Regions from separate parts of the Homo sapiens genome. Here regions 2, 3, 4 and 5 are each linked to region 1. Evidence: promoter capture Hi-C in 16 types of primary human blood cells and fetal thymus (Javierre and others, 2016). All regions are on one chromosome and are shown on one strand. The core of a region is centred on a gene start or on the middle of the fragment in contact, and the rest is flanking DNA. Distances in the headings are between cores, read along the strand shown. Region 1 holds the start of SPATA13 (spermatogenesis associated 13). Region 2 overlaps SACS (sacsin molecular chaperone). Region 3 overlaps SACS (sacsin molecular chaperone). Region 4 overlaps LINC00327 (long intergenic non-protein coding RNA 327). Region 5 overlaps TNFRSF19 (TNF receptor superfamily member 19).

The links. Contacts are between HindIII fragments. The CHiCAGO score rates a contact against its expected background, and 5 or more counts as called.
Region 2: a contact is called between a fragment that was not itself captured here and the fragment with the promoter of SPATA13 in region 1, in 1 of 17 cell types (fetal thymus). The highest score is 5.8, in fetal thymus.
Region 3: a contact is called between a fragment that was not itself captured here and the fragment with the promoter of SPATA13 in region 1, in 1 of 17 cell types (monocytes). The highest score is 6.3, in monocytes.
Region 4: a fragment that was not itself captured here is called in contact with the fragment with the promoter of SPATA13 in region 1 in 1 of 17 cell types (fetal thymus); the score reaches 8.5 in fetal thymus.
Region 5: a contact is called between a fragment that was not itself captured here and the fragment with the promoter of SPATA13 in region 1, in 1 of 17 cell types (fetal thymus). The highest score is 5.1, in fetal thymus.

Annotation. Positions count from the first base shown.
Region 1 is chr13:24,159,416-24,161,997 of GRCh38, reverse strand. It overlaps SPATA13 (spermatogenesis associated 13), which reads right to left and starts at 1,278. Exons shown (of 13, transcript NM_001166271.3): 1 at 1,066-1,278. RefSeq lists a silencer at 1,328-1,387. The HindIII fragment of the contact is 10,500 bases long and covers 1-2,582 here.
Region 2 is chr13:23,362,515-23,365,096 of GRCh38, reverse strand. All of the region lies in intron 6 of SACS (sacsin molecular chaperone), which reads left to right. Among named protein-coding and RNA genes, the nearest start is that of SACS-AS1, 55 kb to the left of the region's middle. The HindIII fragment of the contact is 3,544 bases long and covers 1-2,582 here.
Region 3 is chr13:23,383,294-23,385,875 of GRCh38, reverse strand. The region is part of intron 2 of SACS (sacsin molecular chaperone); the gene reads left to right. Among named protein-coding and RNA genes, the nearest start is that of SACS-AS1, 34 kb to the left of the region's middle. RefSeq lists enhancers at 1,457-1,686, 1,707-1,766. The HindIII fragment of the contact is 4,314 bases long and covers 1-2,582 here.
Region 4 is chr13:23,473,480-23,476,061 of GRCh38, reverse strand. All of the region lies in intron 2 of LINC00327 (long intergenic non-protein coding RNA 327), which reads right to left. Among named protein-coding and RNA genes, the nearest start is that of LINC00327, 5.3 kb to the right of the region's middle. The HindIII fragment of the contact is 926 bases long and covers 836-1,761 here.
Region 5 is chr13:23,572,869-23,575,450 of GRCh38, reverse strand. The region is part of intron 1 of TNFRSF19 (TNF receptor superfamily member 19); the gene reads right to left. Among named protein-coding and RNA genes, the nearest start is that of TNFRSF19, 3.7 kb to the right of the region's middle. RefSeq lists enhancers at 451-600, 1,071-1,240. The HindIII fragment of the contact is 6,515 bases long and covers 1-2,582 here.

The DNA.
Region 1 (2,582 bases), core at 29-2,528:
TGTTGGGAAAGGTGGAAAAAGAAAAGGAGTGAGATTTCTCCGCCTGTTAGCAAGGGGAATAAAGGAGAGCAAATCGCTGGGTGACCAGGAAAGGTTCACAGAGAAGAAAACACGAGGCAGCAAAAACCGAAGGTGGGGACAGAGAAAATGCTGGCAGGGGGAGGTGCATAATATAAGGCTATGGGAAGCCATGGGAACAAGAGCTGAATAAATTCACAGTATTATTCTATTTATCCACATCCCTATGCAATGCTGGGAAGCAAATGACCCACAGGGTTTTGTTTGCTTGCTTTGGTTTGGTTTTCCTGCACTTGGAGGGAGGGGAAATTTGCTCAAGCTCTGTAACCTTGCAGTCAGATGGGTGGCCCAGCCCAAGTCACCCGAGCTCCCCCTGACGCTGGCAGCAGCGCGGGCTTCTACCTGCCTGGGGCTGGAGTACCAATTCCCCCACCTCCTGCACAGAATGGGACCAAACCAACTCCGCCAATGCATTCCCTGCAGTCCACAGACGATGGGCACCGGGTCCCAAAATCTTTCCCCTGGGACGAGACTCCGCTGGTACCAAGAGAAACTTGCTTTCTAAACTAAGCTCTCCAACCGCATCGCTCCGGGTCCCCGGAGGCACCAGCCACGCCACCCGATGGAGCAGAGCGTTACAGGGCTCCGCCGCGCCAGGCTCCCCAGACTCTGCCACCCCCACGGCCGCCCCTGTAGGCCAGGCCCCGCGAGCTGGGAGCGCGGGTGAAGTTACAAGGCGACCTCCCTGCAGGCTTCCGGCTGGAAACGGCCTTTTGCGAGAACACCACGTGCATGTCCTCCCAAAAGCGATGGTGCCGGGTGGCCCAGAGGGCGCAGAGCCACCGCCGGGCAGGGAGCGGGCGCACGGACCTAACAGGTGAGCACCCGGTAGCCTCCACCGGCGGGGGAAGCAGAGGCCAAGCAGCTGGGAGCTGGACATCCCGAAGCCCCGAGGCAGTCCACTGGGACTCAAATCCTCCCGATATTCTACCTAACAGCCCATGCCCGCGCCCGCCCGGCAGAGCCGCGCGCCCGAAGCCGTCTTACCTCCTGCGGCGCCTCTTGGCGGAGCCTACAAAGTCAGCGTGTCCAACACGTCCCTGCCCTCAGAGCCACCTCCGGTGCCGGCGGAGCCCCGAGGTCGCCGCACTCTCGGAGGAGCCTGGGATCCAGTGCGCGCCCTCGGAGCTAGCGACCGGCAGGGCGATCGCGGGAGAAAGCGCAACGCACACTCTCCTCCCGCGCCGCGGCAGCACACTCAGCCAAGCCACGCCCCAGCCCCGCTCCCCACCAGGCCACGCCCCCAGCCCGGCTCTTCCCCCCGCCCCATATCAGGCCACGCCCCCGGTTAGCTCACTCCCTCAGGCCACACCCTCGGCCACGCCCCCACACTACCAACCACAGCCGGGGACCCCACCCATCAAAAACAGTTCCCCGGCCAGGCGCAGTGGCTCTTGCCTGTAATCCTAGCACTTTTGGAGGCCGAGGTGGGCGGATCACCTGAGGTCAGGAATTTGAGAGCAGCTTGGCCAACATGGTGAAACCCCGTCTCTAATAAAAATAAAAATTAACCGGGCGTGGTGACAGGCGCCTGTGATCCCAGCTACTCAGGAGGCTAAGGCAGGAGAATCACTTGAACCCGAGAGGCGGAGGTTGCAGTGTGCCGAGATCGCGCCACTGCACTCCAACCTGGAGGACACAGCCAGACTCCGTTTTTTAAAAAAAGAAACAAACAAAAATAGTTCCCTCAGCCACCAGCCAGCCCCCACCCCCCAGGGCGGGAAGAGGAGTCTCATCTCCGGGGCAACCGTGCCCCACTGCCCACTGCCTGGGCCAGAAGTTCACTCCCTGTGAAAGGAAAACGCAGGGTAGGGATTTTTAAACCTACATGTTTCCCAGGGCCTGGGGCAAGTCTTGAGTAGACTGTTGCAGTAAACCGACTCAAAGGCCTATCACCTTTCTTGTGAGGCTCAAGGCCTAATCATTAATTGACATGAAAACCACAGAAGAGAAGCAAACCCTTCTGTGCTGGGATCTGTGCCCCAGTGCTCCATGTTCCCTGATAGGCAGCTAATGGAATTCATAAAATAAATGCATGCTTTCTACCAGTGTAGTTTTTTAGATGATTCATTTAGTGGCCAGCACTATTATTTATAAATGTCTATTGTCTTTTATAATCAAAGAACAATACCCACAATCTGTAAAATAAAAAACAAAAATTATATTACCCAATGAAAAGTGAAAATTAATTTTATGTATGTTTTTTAAAATATTGAAAAAACTCTGTATGACATTATAATGGTGGCTTCATGTCATTATGCATTTCTCAAAACTCACAGAATGAACAGCATGCGGCGTGAGCCTCCTGTAAGTAATGGACTTAGTTCATCTTAATGTAACAACATGGGCCCATCAATCATAACACATGTGCCACTCGAATGTAAGATGTCAGTACAAGCAGCTGTGTGTGGAGGGAGGGGCGTGAGGGAGTACATCAGAACTCCGTGTACTTTCCATTCCTGTTTTCTAAACCTAAAACTGCTCTAAAAATAGTCTATTAATTA
Region 2 (2,582 bases), core at 39-2,538, 800 kb after region 1:
CTTTGTTTAATGAACAGTCTATCATTTGTACTTTTTGGCATGTTTATGTCCACTTCTTCAGATGTTTTTCTCTGCTTTTGGTGGGAAGGTGTCTCCACCAGTTGGTATTTTTAGAGAACAAAGAATAAAATCTGAAAACTCAAAATGACAAGCAATGTAATGACCAAAGCCTCTTATTCTATTCAAACAACTTGTATTTTATATTATCAGTAGGATAAAGGGACACCATTTATGTATAGTAACACTTTCCTGCATTTGGAAAGATGTTGTGAAAGGCCATGCTTTTGTGTATTTTCCGCTTTAGGAGTACCCTCGACATTGTTTGGAAGTTGGGTGGGAAGAAAGATTGAAGGAGAGGAGAGAACAAGGAAAATGAAAGGAAACATGATAAGAAAGCCATAAACTAATAAATTATTAATCCAATAAGAACCCTAACCAATAGACTCCTAATATCTCACTTCTACTCCGGGGAGCTTTGGTGTCAAAAAGAATGTTCATAAATTGTAGTATACCTCTGGCTGGGTGCGGTGGCTCACGCCTGTAATCCTAGCACTTTGGGAGGCTGAGGTGGGCAGATCACCTGAGGTCAGGAGTTTGGGACCAGCCTGGCGAACGTGGCAAAACCCCGTCTCTACTAAAAATATAAAAATTAGCTGGGCGTGGTGGCAGACGCCTGTAATCCCAGCTACTCAGGAGGCTGAGGCCGGAGAATCGCTTGAACTCGGGAGGCGGAGGTTGTAGTGAGCCGAGATCACATCACTTCAATTTAGTATACCTCTGAAGTCATTGTCAATGACTGTATGTGACAGAAAGTTACTGAGAAAAAGTGGGATCAAGTCAGACCTTCTGAGACACCTTTTTAAAGAGATTTAAGTCATGTATTTTTAAAAAGATGTTTTATGATTTAGGAGGCCAGTTAACATTTAGTTAAATATCTAGCATTTGTTATGTCTCATATAGTCATTCTTAGCTCACATTTGTCACTTGAAAGTTGTACTTTCTATACTCTATAAAAAGAGGTGTGTGGGACATAACATCAGGAGGTGTGCGTTCTAGTCCTGACTGCTGCTACCTTAGTGACTTGGGCCAGTCATCACAGAGGTCAGATCATTTTTATAATAAGAGGATTAGCCTGCAAGGTATCTTGTCTCTAAGAGCCTGTGACTTAATGTAACATTGGATTCAAGAGACTTCAGGTTAAGTCCTAATCCTACACAGTACTACCCCATTGTACTGCCCCCCAGGCACTGTTACACTCAGTGGCAGCTGTGACCCTCACACTGACTTACTGCTTGCCTGCAAGTGGTATGAGAAAATCTTTCTCCCACATAGTTTGAGGATTATATGAGATAATATATGTGATAATGTTTTATACCTGGTATCATACTGATGACGGTATGTGCTGTGGAACTGCTAAGGTAAGAGTGTAAGGAGAGCCTATGATGTTTTTGCTTCTAGCCTTGACTTCACCTTGTTTTAAAAAACATTTGAAACTGGATTATTTTGCGAGTTTATGCATAGGTATATTTAGAGATAGGCTCTTTAAAAGTGGCCAATTTAAAATAAACGTGGGCTGGGTGCGGTGGCTCACACCTGTAATCCCAGCACTTTGGGAGGCCAAGTGGGCAGATCACCTGAGGTCAGGAATTCGAGACCAGCCTGGCCAACATGTTGAAACCTGTCTCTACTAAAAATACAAAAATTAGCCAGGTGTGGTGGCGGGCACCTGTAATCACAGCTACTTGGGAGGCTGAGGCAGGAGAATCGCTTGAACCTGGGAGGCAGAGGTTGCAGTGAGCCAAGACCCCACTATTGCAGTCCAGCCTGGGCAACAAGAGCGAAACTGTGTCTCAAAAATAAATATATAAGTAAGTAAAAAATAAATGTAGGCCAGGTGCGGTGGCTCATGCCTGTAATCCCAGCACTTTGGGAGGCTGAGGTGGACAGATCACCTGAGGTCAGGAATTTGAGACCAGCCTGGCCAACATGGTGAAACCCCATCTCTAATACAAATACAAAAATTATCTGGGCGTGGTGGTGAGCACCTGTAATCCCAGCTACTTGGGAGGCTGAGGCAGGAGAACCCTTGAACCCGGGAGGCAGAGGTTGCAGTGAGCTGAGACTGTGCCATTGCAGTCCAGCCTGGGCAACAAGGGCGAAACTCTGTCTCAAAAATAAATACATACATAAATAAAAAATGAAATAAATGCAGGCTGGGCATGGTGGCTCCTGCCTGTAATCCCAGCACTTTGAGAGGCTGAGGCAGGTGGATCACCTGAGGTCAGGAGTTTGAAACCAGCCTGGTCAACATGGCGAAACCCTGTTTCTACTAAAAATACAAAAATTAGCCGTGCGTGGTGATGCATATCTGTAATCCCAGCTACTCAGGAGGCTGAGGCAGGAGAATCACTTGAACCTGGGAGGTGGAGATTGCAGTGAGCCGAGATCTTGCCACTGCACTCCAGCCTGGGTGACAGAGTGAGACTCCATCTCAAAAAAAAAAAAAAAAAAAAAAGGAATGTATTATATAAAAGCAGGTGGCAGTGATCTCTGATCTCTTTATTTAACAAACATTTATTGAG
Region 3 (2,582 bases), core at 59-2,558, 780 kb after region 1:
CGATGAATATCGTTTCCTGCCTGCTAACACAGCATCCATTCTGCAGCCCACAGATCAAGGAATAATTTTGACTTTCAAGTCTTATTATTTAAGAAATACATTTTATGAGGCTATAGCTGCCATAGATAGTGATTCCTCTGACGGATCTGGGCAAAATGAATTGAAAAGTTCCTGGAAAGGATTCACCATTCTAGATTCCATTAAGAACATCCATGATTGGCCAGGTGCTGTGGCTCATGCCTGTAGTCCTAGCACTTTGGGTGGCCGAGGCGGGTGGATCAGCTGAAGTCAGGAATTCGAGACCAGCCTAACCAACATGATGAAACCTCATCACTACTAAAAATACAAAATTACCGGGCATGGTGGCACATGCTTGTAATCCCAGCTACTTGGGAGGCTGAGGCAGGAGAATCGCTTGAACCCAGGAAGCGGAAGTTGCAGTGAGCCAGGATCACACCCTTGCACTCCAGCCTGGGCAACAAGAGCAAAACTCTATCTCAAAAAAAAAAAAAAAAGAACATCCATGATTCATGGGAGAAGGTCAAAATATCAACATTAACAGGAGTTTGGAAGAAGTTGATTCCAACCCTTGTGGATGACTTTGAGGAGTTCAAGATTTCATTGGAGGAAGTAACTACAGAAGTGATGGAAACAGCAAGAACTAGAATTAGCAGTGGAGCCTGATGATGTGACTGAGTTGGGGCAATCTCATGATAAAACTTTTTTTTTTTTTTGAGACAGAGTCTCCCTCTGTCGCCCAGGCTGTATTTGTATTTTTAGTAGAGATGGCGTTTCACCGTGTTAGCCAGGATGTTCTCGATCTCCTGACCTCGTGATCTGCCTACCTCGGCCTCCCAAAGTCCTGGGATTACAGGCGTGAGCCACCATGCCCGGCCAGGAATGTACATTTTTAAAGACATAATGCTATTTCACACTTAATAGACTATAGTATAGTGTATAAACATAACTTTTATCTGCACCGGGAAAACAAAATATTATGTGACTTATTTTATTGTGATATTCATTATATTGCACTGGTTTGGAACCAAATCTTCAATATCTCTGAGGTATTCCTGTGCCAAAAAAATGAAATTTTGGCCCAAAAAATGAAAAAGTTTTAGATCCTGCATGAATGCCAATGATTCCTTCATTCTCTGGTCCTCCACAGTCTGAATCCCAACTCCCCTTGGGCCCTGTTTTTTTCACCATTACATCTCCCAAACTAATATAAAGTGAATGGGTGCATCTCTTCCTTAGGCTTTGAAAAATTGTTTTGGAGTTTGCTGTGAAAGGATAAATCAACTCACAACTTTCTCTAATAACTAGTTTATTAATATCTGTCCAATAAGAGAATTATTAAAGAAATGAACACAAAACAGAAAAGTTAAGAAGGACTTCCTTTTCTTCCCCTAATTTAAATTTGTACAGAGATGGTAAGTGGTTATAGTGAGTGGTCATGACAAGCCACACATGTGAACATCACTACATTCGCTTATTTGGCAGTGAATGATGTGGAACACAGAGTGACATACAAGAGGCCATGATCAAGAGGGACTTTCCATAGTTGATGAGTAAATGCATTTCATTCCTGTGCAGTCACTGATGAGTGGAAGTTAAATGCTGAAGATGTCTACGAAGGCGGAAGTCACCTTGCACGGGCTTGGCTAGAGAAAGCCTTCTGCTCTTCTGCCTGAGCACTGATTGATGGGTGGAAAATCAGTAATGTTATTTGAGTCTTCCCATCTCTGATGTCTTTTATTGCTACCTCCTGAAATGTGAAGGAGTGTTTCTAATACCCCATTCATGCACTTAACCACTTAAGTATGAGATCAGTATTCTTCCATTACATGATTTAAGGCTGAAGTTCTAGCTTTTTAACCAACCCTCCCCAGAAAGACCTTGCGATGACCCTTCTTACTGATCTCCATCCTGATTTGTGCACACATTTGCTGGGTTCTGTGCCAGGCACTGGGGTTGGGGAGAGGGTGATGGTGTGAACAAGGGATATGGAGGCATGTTTTCTGCTCTTGAATGTCTCCAGAGGGGGACTTAGCAAGTAAATATGTGGTTTGTGTAATATGGAAAGAGCTGGGATGGGTGGATATACAAAGTATTCAGAGAGAGTAAGAAAGGAGACATAAGCGTCGTTTGTCCTGGACTTATTGCCGTTTTTCCTTAAACAGTGTTGGGGGGAGAGAGACAATTTTGAAGTGACATTTGAATGGGGCTATCAAGGGTGGGCCATCAAAATTGAACATGGAGGGAGGAGCCAGATGCTGCAGGAGGAAACAGAATGGGCTGAGAAAGGTGCAAAAAAAGCAGTACAAAGGCATGAACAGGCCTGCAGAGCTCTGGGGCTGTTCAGGAAGGAGGGATGGAGACAAGGCTGGGAAACATTTGGACATTACGATGCAGGTAACTTGAACTACTAAAAATATCTTGATGCTGGGGAGGGATTTAGTCACACTCGATTATACAATAACTTGATGGTAATATGAAGGGTTGATTGGAGGAGAAAGGATGTGGGGCAGTGAGAACAGCTGGGGCCCTGAGTGGTGGCCTGAGTAAGGGACAGGAGAGAG
Region 4 (2,582 bases), core at 49-2,548, 690 kb after region 1:
GTGCCTGCTACTCTGGAGGCTGAGGTGGGAAAATCATTTGAGCCGAGGAGTTTGAGGTTGCCGTGAGCTGTAATTGCACTGCTATACTCCAGCCTGGGCAACAGAGCAAGACCCTGTATCTTGAAAGAAACAACAAAACACACATTTTAAAAAACCACTAAATTTAAAAAGAGCCCAAAGTATAAGACTCTTATATGAAAATGTGTGTAAATCTTCATCATTTAGGCATTAGTTTCCTAGATATGATCCCAAATGCCTAAGTAAACAAAGACAAAAATAGACAAATTGGATTTCATCAGCATCACAGCATCACAGTGCATTAAAGGACACTATCAAGAGACTGTCCTAAAGAAAAGAAAACCCACAGAATGAAATAAAATACCTGCAAACCATGTATCTCATAAGCATCTAGTATCTAGAATATATGAATGAAGCTCTCTGACAACTCAACAGTAAAAAACTCCATTAAAAAAGTGAGCAAATGATTCGAACAGACATTTCTCCAAAGAAGGCATACAAATGGCAACCAGGTATTTGAAAAGGTGCTCAACATCATTGATCATCAGAGAAATGCAAATCAAAACTACAATGAGATATCATTTCAGACACACTAGAATGACTATAATAATAATTTTTAAAAGGGAAATAATATTGGCAAGGATGTGGAAAAATTGGAACTCTAATAAATTGCTGGTGGGTATATAAAATGGTACAACCACTGTGGAAAACAGCTGGTTCCTAAAAAAGTTAAACATACAGTTCTCATATATAACCCAGCAATTCAATTCCTAGGGATATAGCCAAGAAAATGAAAATGTATGTTCACACAAAAGCTTACATTTTAATGTTCACAGTAGCATTATTCATAATAGCCAAAAAGTGGAAACAACTCAATTGTCCACTAACAGATGAATGAATAAATAAATTGTGGTCTATCCACACAAAGAAATACTATTCAGCCACAAAAAGGAATGAATTACTGACACATACAACAATGTGGATGAACCTTGAAAACACTATGCTGAGTAAAAGACGTCAGACAAAAAAGGCTACATGTTGTAGCCTTTTATTCCGTTTATATGAAATGTTCAGAATGGGCAAAACTATAAAGAAACAGAATAGATTAGGAAGTGTTCAGGGCTGATGGCCGGGAGACTGGGCAATGGCTGCCCAAGAGTATGAGATCTCCATTTGGGGTGATGAAAACATCCTGGAATTAGATAGTGCTTTTGGTTGCACAAATTGTGAATATGATACACTGAGAACCACTGAATTGTGCACTTTAATTTTTTTTTTTTTTGAGATGGAGGTTCTCTCGTGTTGCTCAGGCTGAAATGCAGTGGCACAATCTCAGGTCACTGCAACCTCCACCTCCCGGGTTCAAGCGATTCTCCTGCCTCAGCCTCCCAAATAGCTGAGATTACAGGCATGCACCACCTGCCCAGCTAATTCTGTATTTTTAGTAGAGACGGAGTTTCACCATGTTGGTCAGCCTGGTCTCAAACTTCTGACTTCAAGTGATCCACCCGCCTCGGCCTCCCAAAGTGCTAGGATTACAGGCGAGAGCCACTGTGCCCTGCCAATTGTTTGTACACTTTAAAATGATAATTTTATGATACGTAAATTGTATCTTAAAAAACAAGGGAAAAAATACGTAGAAACAGTTTAGACATGCATTATCTTCTGTGAATAGCATTGTCAACAATCCAACATAAATTAATTAAAAAACAAGAATCAGGCTCATTTTTTACAATAAAAGCTTTTGATATTTTTATACATGCTGTTTATTCAAAACTTATAGGTTTTCTATATGGGAAATTACAATTCCTTTCATAACCTTTTGTTTAGTTTCAATGGTAGAATGACACAAATATTTTAATGTAAAAATGATTGGCTACTTTAATTGCCTATACACACACTTTCAATAAGTATGTACCATTTTTGTAATTCTTGTCTTTTTTTCTATTTTAAATTTGTTCTGATAACATTGATTGAAATATAATATTTTGTCTAGGGGCCGGGCACGGTGGCTCATGCCTGTAATCCCAGCACTTTGGGAGGCTGAGGCGGGCAGATCACGAGGTCAGGAGATTGAGACCATCCTGGCTAACACGGTGAAACCCTGTCTCTACTAAAAATACAAAAAATTAGCCGGGCTTGGTGGAGGGCGCCTGTAGTCCCAGCTATTCAGGAGGCTGAGGCAGGAGAATGGCATGAATCTGGGAGGCAGAGCCTGCAGTGAGCTGAGATGGTGCCACTGCGCTCCAGCCTGGGTGACAGAACGAGACTCCATCTCAAAAAAAAAAAAAAGAAATATAATCTTTTGTCTCTTGAGTCTGGTAATAAAACATTTGGGCTTGTATTTTGTGTGCCTTTGCTTTTTAAATTTTATTTTTCTAGTAATTTATTTCTACTATATTTTAAAAAGTAACCTTCTGCAATGGATTTGAAATTTTAACACAAAAGCTGGTCCTTCACCACAGATGCTTTGCGAAGCACTTGTGTGGGGCACCTGGATGTGGACGGAGTACTCTGTAATAAATTATCTACAACAGAAGATTTACATCTTCCTAGGTAAATGT
Region 5 (2,582 bases), core at 51-2,550, 590 kb after region 1:
CACCAAGTTAATTAACAAAGCTGGAATCAGAATCTGGGCTTTCTGTATCTTAACATAATCTTCACCATACCATGGGTGCGTAAACCAATATATATGAAAAACCCAAGGAGGCTATTTTTATAGCCCCCTCCTGTAAGTGGAGCTCAAGACACTTACAGAGCAAAGTTGTTACAAGTTGCAGCACTTGCACTGATCTTTGTGAGTTTGGCCCTGAGTACCTCATTGGCTAGACCCTTTTCATGAGTTCGATGAGGGAAGAGACAGTCCATTGACTCTCCTTCTCTCCTTCCTGATGAACATGGTGGACTCCCCGACCTAGGGCTGGCTTGAGGCCAGGCTGGCTGGGCAGCAGCCCATGGTGCTAAGCTATAGAGCCACCAAAGAATGGGGGGCATTTAACAGGATGGAGAAAACTATCTTTATCAGAACTCCTCTCAAAGACAGTGGGTTATGTTGGAAGGAATGGTTTTATGAAGTCATTGGAAACCCCCACATGACTTCTCCTTCCCCTTCTCATCAAAGAGAAAATTTAAGTCACAAAGGAGGGTTTTAAACTACCTACTTAATCTAAAGAAGTGAGTATTGATTTTGGCAAGTGGGTGGGTTTGAGGTAACAACTTTGGAGCCAAAGCTGAATGACTAGTGACAGTAGAGGAGAAATTAAAGCACAGCCAACACAGCCACCAGGGAGCCTCCCTCTGCCCTCCCATCACAGAGCTCACCCAGGTGGACAACGTTTTAAAGAACCATCCTTTAAAGGGGACAAAATCACTCATTCTTCCAGGGTGGCTTGGACTGGCCTTGCCATCACAGAAAGAGAATCCGACTAAACCAATGCCAGATGGTTGAGTTCAGTTCACTCCTGAAGCAGAGGGAGAACAGATTATGCCTTCATGGCTTAGGGAGGTCCTTTATGGCCATCCTGACAGAAAATACTATTAAAAATGTCTAATAGTTCTTACAAAATATATAAAAGGAAAAAAAAAAACTGGAGCCCATATTTTTGGCCAAAATTTTGGCTATAATGTTTGCTGACAGTCAAGTTCAGCTTTGTGTAATTCTTAAAAAGAATGAATCACCTAGCCCCAGAACAAAAAAAATGTAGATCACAATGCTGCCACTGAATTATTCCTATAATCTTGCACATGTTATTTATCCTTGCACAAGTACTTGATATTGAATTAATTGATAATGAGTGAATTAATAAATATTAGGTCATGTTAGTAATAATCTTGTATATGTAGGAATCCTAAAGAGGGTGATAAGCCCTATTATGAGGGCAGTTGTTTGGCCATGAGAGTCCTGTATTTGTATAAAATTTTATTAGTAACTAAATTAAAATTTTTCACACAAGATATAGATAGATAGATTTTTTTTTTTTTTTTTTTTGAGACAGAGTCTCACTCTGTCACCCAGGCTGGAGTGCAGTGGCGCCATCTCGGCTCACTGAAAGCTCTGCCTCCCGGGTTCACACCATTTTTCTGCCTCAGCCTCCCAAGTAGCTGGGACTACAGGCGCCTGCCACCTTGTCCGGCTAATTTTTTGTATTTTTAGTAGAGATGGGGTTTCACCATGTTAGCCAGGATGGTCTCGATCTCCTGACCTCGTGATCCGTCTGCCTCGGCCTCCCAAAGTGCTGGGATTACAGGCGTGAGCCACCGCTCCTGGCCCCAAGATATATTTTTTCAAGGAAGAAAAGCAAAGAGATAATGAAAACATGCTCAAGAGTCTTAACATAATCAAACATGATATGAAACACATATCATATCATGTTTGAAATGCACATTGAGTTTGTCAACTGAAGTTTCACAGAATCCCACTGGGAATTTCCCTGGAGGAAAATTAACCTTTAATTATTAAACTGTTTTTGGATGCCACTGGCATCATCTAAGAAAATATCAATTCCTTCAAAACACACAAATATGTGTTGATATAATGCCAAACTCGTATGTACACACACACACAGAGGCAAACACACAAATACATATATAATTCCACATCACATTGATGCATTAAACTTTTTGTGAAAATTATTTTACGTGTTAAATTATGTTAAATTATGGGTAGCAGCTACTGTGTTTAGACAGCTTAGAAGTCCAGAAGTAGAAGGAACAGTTGGAAAATAATCAGACGAATCCAGCTGACTGACATATCTATCATGGAAACAAAAAAAAAATGCACTACAATAGGAAGTGGCTGTCTTTATTTTTCAAACTAATATTGTTCTTTGATGAGCTACAGAGTGCATTTGTTTAAGCAGTTGTTGGAAAGCAGACCCTGCATGGTAGACTGGAAAGAACATTGGACTAGAACTGGGAAAATCAGCCATGTGACCTTGTTAAGATAGGGACATTCGTTTTCTATAGCCTCAGTTTCCTCATCTGTAAAATGGCCATAAAAATTCCAATTCTGCTTATTTCATAAAGATGATGTGATCAACTCCCTCACTTCACACATGAGGAAACTCTCTTGAGGTCATATAGCTAATTGGTGACAGTATCAGGACTCAACATAAAAGTCTTTTGAAGACTTGGACTTTCTGTAGTAACAAAGCTGCCATTGAAGCAACAGATAGGAAAGTG